4 separate regions of the Homo sapiens genome follow, and all the other regions are linked to region 4. Evidence: promoter capture Hi-C in human tissues and cell types (Jung and others, 2019). All regions are on one chromosome and are shown on one strand. Each heading gives the region's core, a stretch centred on a gene start or on the middle of the fragment in contact. The rest is flanking DNA. Distances are from core to core; before and after follow the strand shown. Region 1 holds the start of TRIM37 (tripartite motif containing 37). Region 2 holds the start of SKA2 (spindle and kinetochore associated complex subunit 2). Region 3 holds the start of GDPD1 (glycerophosphodiester phosphodiesterase domain containing 1). Region 4 overlaps SEPTIN4 (septin 4).

The links. Contacts are between HindIII fragments. The study calls those that stand out against the background at their distance.
Region 1: the fragment with the promoter of TRIM37 here is called in contact with a fragment that was not itself captured in region 4 in 2 of the 25 tissues and cell types used here (H1 embryonic stem cells and heart right ventricle).
Region 2: the fragment with the promoter of SKA2 here is called in contact with a fragment that was not itself captured in region 4 in 2 of the 25 tissues and cell types used here (dorsolateral prefrontal cortex and lymphoblastoid cells).
Region 3: a contact is called between the fragment with the promoter of GDPD1 here and a fragment that was not itself captured in region 4, in 1 of the 25 tissues and cell types used here (H1 embryonic stem cells).

What each region holds. Positions count from the first base shown.
Region 1 is chr17:59,105,486-59,108,290 of GRCh38, reverse strand. It overlaps TRIM37 (tripartite motif containing 37), which reads left to right and starts at 1,411. Exons shown (of 24, transcript NM_015294.6): 1 at 1,411-1,850. The coding sequence starts at 1,830. It overlaps LOC124904039 (a long non-coding RNA gene), which reads right to left and starts at 1,195. Exons shown (of 2, transcript XR_007065864.1): 1 at 700-1,195. RefSeq lists enhancers at 888-967, 1,008-1,057, 1,428-1,527, 1,004-1,663, 1,618-1,747 and 2 more and a silencer at 1,188-1,297. The HindIII fragment of the contact is 14,372 bases long and covers 1-2,805 here.
Region 2 is chr17:59,153,759-59,156,639 of GRCh38, reverse strand. SKA2 (spindle and kinetochore associated complex subunit 2) reads left to right here and starts at 1,454. Exons shown (of 4, transcript NM_182620.4): 1 at 1,454-1,509. The coding sequence starts at 1,477. PRR11 (proline rich 11) reads right to left here and starts at 894. Exons shown (of 10, transcript NM_018304.4): 1 at 835-894. RefSeq lists enhancers at 717-766, 1,427-1,666. The HindIII fragment of the contact is 17,595 bases long and covers 1-2,881 here.
Region 3 is chr17:59,219,038-59,222,126 of GRCh38, reverse strand. GDPD1 (glycerophosphodiester phosphodiesterase domain containing 1) reads right to left here and starts at 1,616. Exons shown (of 10, transcript NM_182569.4): 1 at 1,376-1,616. The coding sequence starts at 1,517. RefSeq lists an enhancer at 1,040-1,590. The HindIII fragment of the contact is 11,394 bases long and covers 1-3,089 here.
Region 4 is chr17:58,530,030-58,533,119 of GRCh38, reverse strand. All of the region lies in intron 3 of SEPTIN4 (septin 4), which reads left to right. All of the region lies in intron 2 of SEPTIN4-AS1 (SEPTIN4 antisense RNA 1), which reads right to left. Among named protein-coding and RNA genes, the nearest start is that of SEPTIN4-AS1, 12 kb to the right of the region's middle. RefSeq lists a silencer at 859-1,308 and an enhancer at 1,406-1,906. The HindIII fragment of the contact is 6,319 bases long and covers 1-3,090 here.

The DNA.
Region 1 (2,805 bases), core at 162-2,661, 580 kb before region 4:
GCATTGCATTTTTTTTTTTTTTTTTTTTGAGACGGAGTTTCACTCTTGTTGCCCAGGTTGGAGTGCAATGGCGCGATCTCGGCTCACCGCAACCTCCGCCTCCTGGGTTCGAGCGATTCTTCTGCCTCAGCCTCCCCAGTAGCTGGGATTACAGGCATGCGCCACCACGCCCGGCTAATTTTGTATTTTTAGTAGAGACGGGGTTTCTCCATGTTGGTCAGGCTGGTCTCGAACTCCCGACCTCAGGTGATTCGCCAGCCTCGGCCTCCCAAAGTGCTGGGATTACAGGTGTGAGCCACCACGCCAGGCCTAGCACTGCATTCTATAAATAATTCTTTTAAGTAAAATTCTCATAATATTAACCATCAACCATTTAAAAATGTACAACTGAGGCCATTTTCGTAAAAATAGCTCCATGTAGGTCAAAGACCACAAATAATTCTTACTGAAAGAATTTTTCAGTCTCAGATTAATCTTTCTAAATTATATCTTGTTCATGACCCAAGTAGTTAAAAAAAATTGTTGCTACCCACCACCTATAAGCCTAAATGCCTGATATTCAAGAACTTATTTCTAGATTATTAGTGATTCTCTACATGTGCACTCTAGGTCGGTTAAGTATAATTAGTTGTTTGCAATAAATACAGGAAAAATTAAATTCAAATTACGAATTTGATATGCCCTCTTTGTCTCACAAACCTTCAATTCTTGCAATCTTTACACATCTGGCAGGAAACTGTAGAAAGCAGATCCCATTTATAGGAAAGATGAATATCGCTGATACCCTTTCAATAGTCCCACGGCGACAACTTAGGCGGCAAGAATGAAGTGTGGGATGTGGGAACGAAGACTTCACAGTGTGTGGTCCCGTCCTCTCACCACCGTAATGAGAAATGACACCTCAGTTTGGAGCCTTCTAACTCGATTAGCTTTGGTAGGTGGAACGCAAGTCCTACAAACCTTAGACTGTTCCTTCCAGAGAGAACCACTAACCATGAACCTTCTGCACCAGGGTTTCTCAAAGTGCGGGCCACAGACCACCTGCTGCCGAATCACACGATGCTGGGTGAAAACGCGGATGGCCTGGGCCCCACCCTGGAATCTCAGAGTCCGAATACTTAACTACGGGTGTGGCTCTGAAGTCTGCGCTTTCCACCAGTACGCCAGGTGGCTCCGTCTTTGGCGCGCAAGTTTGAGAGCCGTGGGGCCCCGCCCTCCGCCAAGGTGGGCGTGGGTGGCGTAGCAGAGCCCCAAGCTCAGGCCGCCTGCGCAGGCTAGGGCCGGAGGCACGCAACCCTGAGGCAGCGAGTCGCCAAGTCTCGTATGCGCCCCGCAACGCGGGAACTAGGCGATCGCTCCACGCTCCTCCCCTCCTTTCCCCTCCCACAGCGTCCTGCGCGCATGCGCTTCGCAGCTTCTCTCGCCGCCGCGCCCCCAGCTGCTCTGGTTACGGTTGGTGTTTGCGAATTCTCTGCGGCACCTTCTTCGCTGAACTCCACCGTCAGTTCCATAGGCGCGCGCCCGCGTCACGTGGGCCGAGGTTCCGGCGCGGCTGCTGGCCGGCGGCTGAGCCGGGAGAAAGGAGCTGCGGCCACCGTTCGCCCTACTTCTGCGCCTCGGGGCGGGCGCGCCGGTAAAAATGGCGAAATGGGGGTAGGCGGCGCTGGACCTGAAGAGATGGGGCGCGCAGGTGGGGCGGTTGTCAGAGCCCCCTGACGTGGGCGCCGGGCTTTTATCGGCGATTTGATCTGGCGACCTCGGGCCGGCGCCTAAGAGGTCAGACTGCGGAGCCTGCGGGTCGCCAGCGGCCCCGCCGAGAGCCGGAGGCAATGGATGAACAGAGCGTGGAGGTGAGGGGGTTGTGAGGGTGGTGGTTAGTCCCCGCCCCCACCCGATGAGCGGTTTTTATTCGGGGAGTCGTGCCCATGTCCTCCCTCCAGTAGGGCACCCCTACCCCGCCCCTGCCGCTGTGGAGAGGGCTGGCCCGGTACCAAGGATGCCGTGCCCATTCTGCAGCGCTCCGGGTGTCTTGTGCTCACTGTTCCGCAGTCAGGTGGTGCGTATCCTGGAGTTTTCAAGGATGTCTTGGCACAGGTACTCATCCCCACCGGGTGTTTGCAAACAGCATCCTTTTCCGACCAAAACTGCAGATTCATCAGATGGATGTACCCTGCCACTCGCCACCAGTCCTTGCGAGTTCTTGAGCTGATCTAAATCTCCTTCCAAATGGATAGTCATCTTTCCCTCTCAGTGGCACATTTTGCAGGCTTCTGCCCTTCCTTCCTAGATTGAATCAGCATATATTATCTCATGTGTAGTTTCCAGAACAAACTCTTCTTTTTATAACTGATTCTTGTAAGCTGTGAGTTAAAATAGTTGGGATATGTAGGATATGTAAGTAAAGGCTAGGAATATATTTTAAAAGATTGTTTATTGAACATAATTGTGTAATCATTATCAAATTTTGAACCTTTCAGATACTGAAATAGGAAATCCTTGCTTTTTAGTAAGGGGTAACTATGTTATGGATATTCCACTTGAAACTAGTCATTCAGTAGTCTTATTGTCCACCCCGTTGCAGGTTACAGAATCTGCATCTCCCAGGTTCTTTCTGGCCCTACAGAGTCATGATGAGATTAATGAGTAATTTTCTCCTTAATTCCTCATATAAAGTATTATAAAGGTTTTGTAAACTTATCTTGGTTTTAGGAGGGTTTAATTCTAGAATGGAGTGAAAGTAAATGTCAGTAATATAAAAACAAAGTATACAATACAATAAGTATACGTTTAATTGTATCCTTTTTC
Region 2 (2,881 bases), core at 205-2,704, 620 kb before region 4:
AGTTCTTTGTTCTGGGGTACTTTCAAAGCTGTAGCAGCAACGGAAATGACTGTTGCATTTCATTGCCATCTTCCTAAAACACATTTTTATGGAAGTCTCTTGCGCTCCTCCACAAATAGCCTTCAATTACTTAATTTCCATTAGCAGTCCAATTGATTCTTCTTGAACACCCATAGCACTATTTCTGGGTACTTGCTTTTTTTAAATTTTATGTTTTATGCTTTTTTTTTTTTAAGCATTGCTGTTTTTGTTCTGTCTTGTTTTTCCAAAGAGACTGCAGCTCCCTAAAGTCTCATCCCGCACAGTATTAGGCACTCAGTAAACAGGACACGCATTTAAAATTGACACTCTAACAGCATGCCAGACAATATCGAGTAACATAGTAATATTCCCAGTCAAGAAATGTACCAACTTAAACTTTAATGTGCATAGAAATCACTCAGGGAAATCTTGTTAAAATGTATATTCTGATTTAGTAAATTTGGGTGGAGTCCGATAATTTGCATTTGTAACAAGCAAACAAGAGATGCGGATGCCGCTGATCTGTGGACTTGCATTGAGCAGCAAATATGTAAAGAAATGTTCAAAAGGAAGGCAGATGCTTTGCTCCAAAACGTATCTTGCGAAGTGTTAATTAAATAGAAGTATGGTTAAGATGAAGCCAGGCCGAGCACTTCTTCCCCAGCCCCAAACCTCCCCTTCCTCCTTTCCATTTCCCCTTCGTGTCCAGCCAAAGTCCCCACCTCCCTAAACCATAAAAACACAAGCAGCAACAGGCCCAGCTACTCAAGACGCGAGCTCAGATAACAAAGAAATAATCGTTCCTGCACTTACTAGTCTAAGAGCCGGGGGAGTCGATGGAGTCCGGGCTGTGGCCTCTCCCACGCCATAAAGAAAAATTCAAAATTAAATCCTTGTCAGGGAGAGGCCAATCGTAGACACGGTCTCTGCACGATTCGCTCTTCGGATGGTGTAGGAGCACAGCCCGGCTTGTGATTGGCTGAGATAGCACAGAGCTCCAGCCAATCAGAGCTGAGGCGCTTCTGGTATGAATAAGGAGAAGGCGGGAGAGAAGGGGAAGGAAAGCCGGAGGGGAAAGAAGGTGTGTTACGTCCCCTCTGCTGTCGGTGGAAGCTCTGGTGTGATTGGTTGGCTCTTCTTCCAATTGCACCAATCTCAAGCTCTTCTCTGCAGAGCCCTAACTACAAAATTGAAAGTAGAGAGGAGGGGGCAGCCAATGGAAAAAAAAATTTGCACAGCAGCCAATCCTCCTGCGGCGTTTTGTGCCTTTGCCCAACAGGAAAATGTGTCTCATGCAGAGGGGCGTTACCCAGTCTCCAATGGGCGGGAGCCGGTGGAACGGAGGAGCCAATGAGTGCGAGATGTTGAGTGACAGCTGTCCAATGGAGGCCCTCCGTGCTAGTACGGCTTGCGGCTTAAGCGCCGCCGCGGTCTGCGGAATGTCAACTATTCAACATGGAGGCGGAGGTCGATAAGCTGGAACTGATGGTGAGTGCAAAGTGAAGGAGATCTACTGGGTAGTTTATTTTTCCCCCATGGCCTCGGAGGTGGGGCACAATTTGGAGTCGCCGGAAACTCCGGGCGGCGGAGGCTGGACCAGAGTCGAGTTCCCTCCTCCTGCACCAAAGGGAGCCGCCACCGTCTGGTGTCTAAACCGCCTCGGGTAAGGGGTTACATCCGGGAAACTCGTCAGGGAAATGGCGGGAGATGCTGAGGGTGCGGGGCCTTTGGAATTCCTTGTTCCTTGCCCTCACCTTTACACCCCTTACGAAACTGCGCCGGGTGCAGACCGCATTCTGTGTTTGTACCAAAAAAGATGTGAATGGAACGGTCCCTAAGCGTCCCAAGAAGGGAGAGGTGGTTCACACTCCAAGAAAGGGGAACGGAGGGTGGGGTGGGGAATAAACTGACGGGGGCGAGGAGAAATCCCTGTAGGGCCAACCCGCTCACGTTCTAAAAGGCGGGCCGAGAAAGTCTGAGAAAGGATGCTAGACTTGTATGCACAACTTCCTAACGGCCAAGGAACCCGTTTCTGTTTGATCCGGAGGTGGCAAACCGTGGGTGAGGGAAGAGGTGTGAGCGAAGGGGATCGTAACCACGAGCTCCGCTCCCGGAGCGCGGGCGGGATTGAGACAGGAAAGGCATCCTGCTCTGGAGTTGTGCACTTTCATTCATCTGTGAAAGTAGAAAACGGGGGCGAAGAATTGGAAAGCACTCCCGTTGTTGCTGGCGTGTTTGGCCTGCTCGGGGGGCGCCCAGCTGGGGGGCTGTCCTAGTTTTCTTTAAGGATCCGTCCCTCACTTGTTCTCTTTATTCCCTCCCTCCCATCCTTAGATTACCAGCTTGATCGCCCGCGCTTTTTTCCTCTTAGTGTCCTTGTTCTGTCTTCAGCCCTTTTCGTTCAGCATTATCTTTTTTTTCTTTTCTTTTCTTTTTTTTTTTTTTTCCCAGGTTGGGCTGCTTTCCTTAAAAACCTGGACTTTGGAGGAAGCGCCTGCCACTGAGCTCCTGTCTTTTTTTGTTTGTTTGCTTGTCTGTTAAATACGATTGGCCGGGCGCGGTGGCTCACGCCTGTAATCCCGGCACTTTGGGAGGCCGAGGCGGGCGGATCAAGAGGTCAAGACATTGAGACTACCCTGGCCAACATGGTGAAACTCCGTCTATACTAAAAATAAAAAAATTAGCCGGGTGTGATGGCACGCGCCTGTAGTCCCAGCTACTCGGGAGGCTGAGGCAGGAGGATCGCTTCAACCTGGGAGACGGAGGTTGCAGTGAGCCGAGATCGCGTCACTGTACTCCGGCCTTGCGACAGAGACAACGTCTCAAAAAAAAAAAAGATTAAGTTTTAAAAAAGTAAAAG
Region 3 (3,089 bases), core at 367-2,866, 690 kb before region 4:
TTCCAATGGTTGAAGGCACCTTAGTAGTTAAATGTCATCCTACAGTTTAACCAGGTAGCTATTAAAACAGATAACCCAAATAAACAATAACAAGGCATTTGGCTGACCACCCTTTAAAACCTCTGAGGCTTTTCATGAGTGGGAAGGCTAGAATACTATTGAAGTCACTCATTAGAACTATGCTTAACTAATAAAATTATATAGAAGAATGATAATGTACTTCCGTATTTATATTTCAAAACCTTTTTCCTTGGCCAATACTTGTTAGTAAAGTGATTATGGTACTACACCAAGTTTTAGACTGTAAACTCCTAGAAATTATCATTTCAAGTGTGTATTAAATTTCAAGCAAATTTTAAACCGGTTTAAGATTCAGCCTTAAAGAACAGTTAAAATTGATTGAAAATAATCCAATTTCACCGCACTTTATACATCATAGTTGAAATGCAATGAAGACACATTATTACACAATAATGAAGAAGCAAAGATTTGGCCTGTTATCTGGGAAATTAGAGGGTGGACTACCTGGGCTCCTTTTAGCAAAACACTTTTCCAAAAGAAACTTATTTTTGTTTTCTTTAAACAATACTGTCCTGTCCTAAACGAAATCATTTTTAGTCTGTTGAAAATCCACGTGTCTTTGCGTGTTTATTTATTTATTTATTTATTTATTTATTTATTGCAGTGTTCAAAAAAAAAAAAAAAAAGATGCAAGGTTTCCAGCCCTGAGGACCAGGACGCTGTAGCTCCTGTCTCAGTTCAGCCCTAGCTCTAATTGTGACCTTGGGAAATGTCCCTGGCTCGGGGGACTCGGTTTCCCTCTCTTCTCAATTATGAGTGCTCGGAACGTGGGGGTGGGACGGGCCCCCAGCACCGCAGACAAGGGGTTACAGCTCGTCCAGCTTCATGCAAATCCCCAGCCCTCCTCGTCGCCTCGGCTCTTCCCATCCACTCAGCCACTAGCTCGCTCGGAGCAGTGTGCTCCCGGTGCCCCCCGCGGGGTACCCTCGGTTCTGCACGGCGCTCCCCCTTTGTGTCTTGCTGCTAGGAAGGGACCTTGCGATCATCCTTCCATCCGCCGAGAAACGCTCCACCTACCCTTCATTCTCGACCGTGTCTTTCCCGTTTCAGAGAACCCCTCACACTGCTGCCCTCGAGAGACCCCCGCCGTGGCTCTGACCGGGAATCCCTCTCCTTCCCTCCCCTCAGGAGACCTTCCCTTCACACAGCCTTCACCTCCGGAAGAGCCCTCAATTCACACAACCCCATTCTTCCTCAAACTCTCAGGGATTGGCACCCGGCTGCCTTTTGCGGAGCCGCAAAGGACCCTCAGCCTCCCCCACCTCCGTCATCGGGTTCTGGGGACCCCTCTCACCTCCGCGGTGAGAGATGTGTTTACTGAGGAATCGCTGCTTCTTTCTCTGGTGCAGCAAGGTCGGGTATTTAAGCAACAAGAATGAGGTCACCAAGTATCCTCCTAGCGTAGAGAGAAGGTAAAAAGCCGCAGTGGACGACATCTCAGTCACCGTGTGGGAAGTCTCCCACCTCCGGGCCCTCTGAACTCCGCTGCGGCAGTAGCAACGACGGCGGCGGCGGCGGCTGCTCGAGGTCGGCTCGCCCCCAGCCGGTGCCACTGGTGCAGCGCACTTGTCGGTGCCGGCCTACTGCGCACGCGCAGCTGGACCCCAGCGCCCCAGCAACAAAGAGGCTCCGACGCGCAGGCGCTCTCCGGCTCCCGTGTAGGAACCTGCAGAGATCCTGGACTGAGCGTTTGTCACCTAGCTCTGTGGACGGACCCTCATGAAGAGAAAGCTTGCAAACCTGCCAGTGTGTTGGCCATCACTCAAGCAGAAAAGACTATTCACGGGCAGCCTTTCCTAATTGGAAAATCCACATCAAAAAGGAAAGATTCCAGGGCGCGTCTTATCCCTTGCTCTAGAAAATGCAAATAATTTGTACCTATGGAGGCGATAAAGCTTGCTAAAACACTAAATAAACTCCTCCGTTTATCTAGCCTAGAGAGAATTTCCCCTATGGTCGCATATACTAGAAAAGGTACTGGTTTATCAGTCAAATATCTGAGAGATCGGCCCCTGTCCTCCCTCATTTCATTGTGAAAGTGCAATCCTCATTCTTTGTACACAATAGGCACTGTAGAAGTATTTGTTGACTTACAAGTCCGTATAAAATAAGGAAACTTTGTTAAGGTTATAAGGTATTACCTAAAAGTCCTAGAAAGACAGATAACTAAGTTCCAGAAGGCCCTACTAGTTTTCCTTTTACCCGACAAATTACAAACTGCTAACACACGAAAAGCCACACACTTCAATGCAAAAGAAATAAATCACCCAGGACTGAGGGAGAAATTTTACGGAGAAGACCATATCTCCCACAGGACTAGAAAAGCAGAGTGAATATTTAAAATCCTGATTCAGCCGGGCGCGGTGGCCCACGCCTGTAATCCCAGCACTTAGGGAGGCCGGGAAGGAAGGGTGGATCGCTTGAGCCCGGGAGTTCGAGACCAGCCTGGGCAACATGGCGAAACCCCATCTCTACAAAAAATAAAACAAAATAAGCCCGGCGTGGTGGCGTGCACCTGTAGTCACGCTACTTGGGAGGCTGAAGTGGGAGTATTGCTTGAGCCTGGAAAATCGAGGCTGCAGTGAGCTATGACTGCACCACTGCACCCCAGCCTGGGCGACAGAGCAAGACCCTATCTCAACTATAAAAAGAAAATTAGAAGAAAATAGGGGGTGGCTGGGCACGGTGGCTCAAGCCTGTAATCCCAGCACTTTGGGAGGCTGAGGCGGGCAGATCATTTGAAGTCAGGAGCCTGGCCAACATGGCGAAATTCCATCTCTACTAAAAATACAAAAATTTGCCAGGGGTGGTGGCGTGTGCCTGTGATCCCAGCTACTCAGGAGGCCGAGGCAGGAGAATCTCTTGGACCCGGGAGGCAGAGGTTGCAATGAGCCGAGAAGGCGCCACTGCACTCCAGCCTGGGTGACAGAGCGAGACTCCGTCTCAAAAAAAAAAAAAAAAAAAAAAAAAAAAAAAAAAAAAAAAATTCCTTTAGTCGAGGTTGAAGT
Region 4 (3,090 bases), core at 330-2,829:
CAGGTCAGACTGAAATACAGCAGGCAGGCCTCTGGCACTTCTACCAACAGAGAGGGCCGTGCCTGTGGGTCTCAGTTTTGTCCAGAGTGTATTCAGGCAGAAGCCAGTCAGCCTGCCATTGAGAGAGGGGTCTTGCGGGTCAGGAAGGGACATGCTTCTGGAAACTTCCACAGGAGCCTGACCAGCTCAGACCCTACTTAGCTCAGGGAATCCCTCACCAACACCCCACTCACCAAGCATCTGCCTTCCCCTAGCTGCTGCTCTGACCTTTCTGAGCCTCTAATGCCTCTAAAGCTTCTGGGGCATCTGTCCCCTCGGCATCTCACCTGCTTGTCAGAGGAAGAGTGGCCCAGCTGGGCCTGGGTCACGCCTGGGTTGGCCTCTCCTGAGGCCCTCCCCACTGTCCTCAGCCACAGGCAAGGCTACACCGCCCTGTTAAAGCCACTCAGCCTCTCCCTTCTATCCTTCCAGCAGATGATCCCTGGATAATTTGTGCAGCAAATCCTCTTTAATCTGTAATCTGGGGTACTGCATGAAGGGAACCTGCCTCTAACCTGCCCCTTCACAGCTCGGGTGGAGGTGGAGAATATCTGACATTCCCCTTTAGGAGGTGTAGTGATCAGTAACTTGGGCATCAGCCGGATTCACTTTGTGAAAACCTTGTTGAATCCCTGCGGTAACTAATGGTTTCTCTCCAACTCATGCAGCAACTCCCCCTCCCTTCCAAAGGCGTCTCCTTCTGGGGATGTCAGGTGGGCCGTTCCTTTTTCTTTGGGAACTGGCTCAAGCCCCCGCGGTGCTTCTGGAGCTGAGTAAAAAAGAGCCAGGTGTCCAGTGCAGCCCGGGGACGAGGAGCTGAGGCTCCCCGCTCTGTCCTGGGTGACTCTGCATACTCTGCGCATCCGGGGGTCGCGGGCTGCGAGGCCGGCCCCCAGCTGGGCACCCCGACCCACTTCGCGCCGGCACCGCTAGCAGCTGAGGTACAGGCCCCGCCCCGGGGCCGACTCGCTCCGCCCCCGCCGCCGGGCCCCTCCCGCAGCGGTCCGCACTCGGGGAGGCGGGAGGGTGACGGCGGTGCTGCGAGGTCGGCGCGCAGCTCCGCCGCGGGTCGCTCGGGCGCTGTCCAGGCGGAGCCGGCCCCGCCCGGGCTGCAGCCATGGTAAGGCAGGCAGGCAGGCGGGCGGGCGCGGGGCAGGGCTGGGGTGCGCAGGGCCGGTCGCTCCCGGGCGGCTGCAAGGGGACCCGCGGCACCGCAGCCGCGGCTGTGCAGGGTGGGAGGCGCCGTCGCCGGCCCCGGGCACAGGCTGGCACTGCTGCCGGGCGGCGGTGCGTCGCTGCTCCCAAGTTTTTCCCTCTGAGCAGCCACGGAGTGGGCGCCAACCCCTGGGTGATGCCTGCGCTCTAGGACGAAGGGGTGGGTCCGTGCTGAGGGAGGTGCCCGCTGGTGGAGACGCGCTTGTTGGGCTGGGGAAGGCGCATCAGTAATAAGCGGAGGTGAGGGTCCCCATCCTCGCCTGGGTCAGCTTTTACCTGAGTAACCCCTCCTCACCCACCTACCCTGGGCACAGGGGCCAGTACCAACTTCATTTGGAAAACGCAGAGGAGGCCCACAAACACTGCCTGCCTCACCAGGAGGGATGGTAAGACGCTTGGCCCCTCCTTCCCTCAGCCTGACAAGGGGCAGTCCCTGGCCCTTTCCCAAAGGGACCCCAGAGAGGGGGAGGCCCAGCCCACCATCCTGCCCGGTGGGATTAGCTATATCCTTCTGCCCCTGGGACAGGAACCATGGGAAAGCTTCCTCCTGCTGCATCTACCCGCTCCCTCCCCACCAGCCAGGTCCCTCTGCAGTGTGTGGGGGTGGGGGCACCCATCCCTGCCACCTGCCTGTAGTGGGAAGAGAAACAGTAACCCCAGCCAGCCTCCCTGGAGGTGCCCAGGTAGGAAGTTTTTGATGCTTGGCTCTGAAGATGTAATCTCTTCTCCTGACATTGTTGCCAGAGCCTGCCACAAATAACGTAAGGGTGTCAGGACCTCTAGGCCACACACCGTCCTCTCCTCTCAGTCTGGAAGCCCCACAGCCTTTGCCCTCTGCATTGGGGGACACAAACTGTTTACAGCAGGGGGGGATCACTGACCAGCCTGTGGGGCGGGATGTTGGCTGTGGGCAGCCTCCAGAAGGGAGCTCCCTGGGCCCCCTGGGATCAGAAGCTTTCAGGTTTGGTAGGGCCAACCTTTTGGGCTCTTGTCTCTCAAGCTGTGTCCAGGCAGAGGCCCAAGCCTTGGCCAGGAAGTCTTGGTGACCCTGTGACCTTCCCCCAACGGGGGTTCCTGAGAGAGGCCTGTCCTTATTCCTTTCCCCCACTTCTCCCCACATGGTGGATGGATGGACTGATTGTTCTAGGGATGGAAGCCTAGGGAAGCACTGATTGTCCCCAGTGCCAAGCCCAGCAGGGGCTAGAGGGGCTTTTTCTGCCACACACTAACTTCAGTTCAGCTGAGGTCTTGGTGCTTTCGGCTTGTCCGAGGCCACACTGTTCTTCTCTAATTAAAGACACACCCCCCTCCACCCCAACCACCATCACCAAAGTCCCCATCCTCAGGCCCCTGCCCTCAAGCCAGCCAAGTTCTTAGGCTGACTGGTTCAGATCAGACTCCTCTATGAGGGTCTCTTTGTCAAAGGAGGTCAGTGTCCTAGCTGCTTTGGGAATCAGTGGGGGAGACCCCCCCAACCCAGCTATGCCAGGGGGTTTAAATTTACATGTGAAAAGAATGACAGGCCAACATTAATGACCATCCTGTGACTTGGGATGCACCTTCTCTTCTCAGGTTCAAAGCAGCTTAAGGTATCTATCATCTGGGAGTGCTTTCTCTCCCCAGCCTCGCTGGGAGGCAAGGAAGGGCCATTCACAACTGAACATTAAGGTCCTCAAATTAAGACACTATCCAGACTCACAAAAGATGTTTCCACCCAACCAGAAACAGTGGACCCCTGACCCCTAGTTGAGTGCACACTTCCAACCAGGCCCCTTAATTTATCTCCCACCTAAATGGCAGCTCTGAAGCTTCTGGGCTGCCAGCCTCCCATTGCCT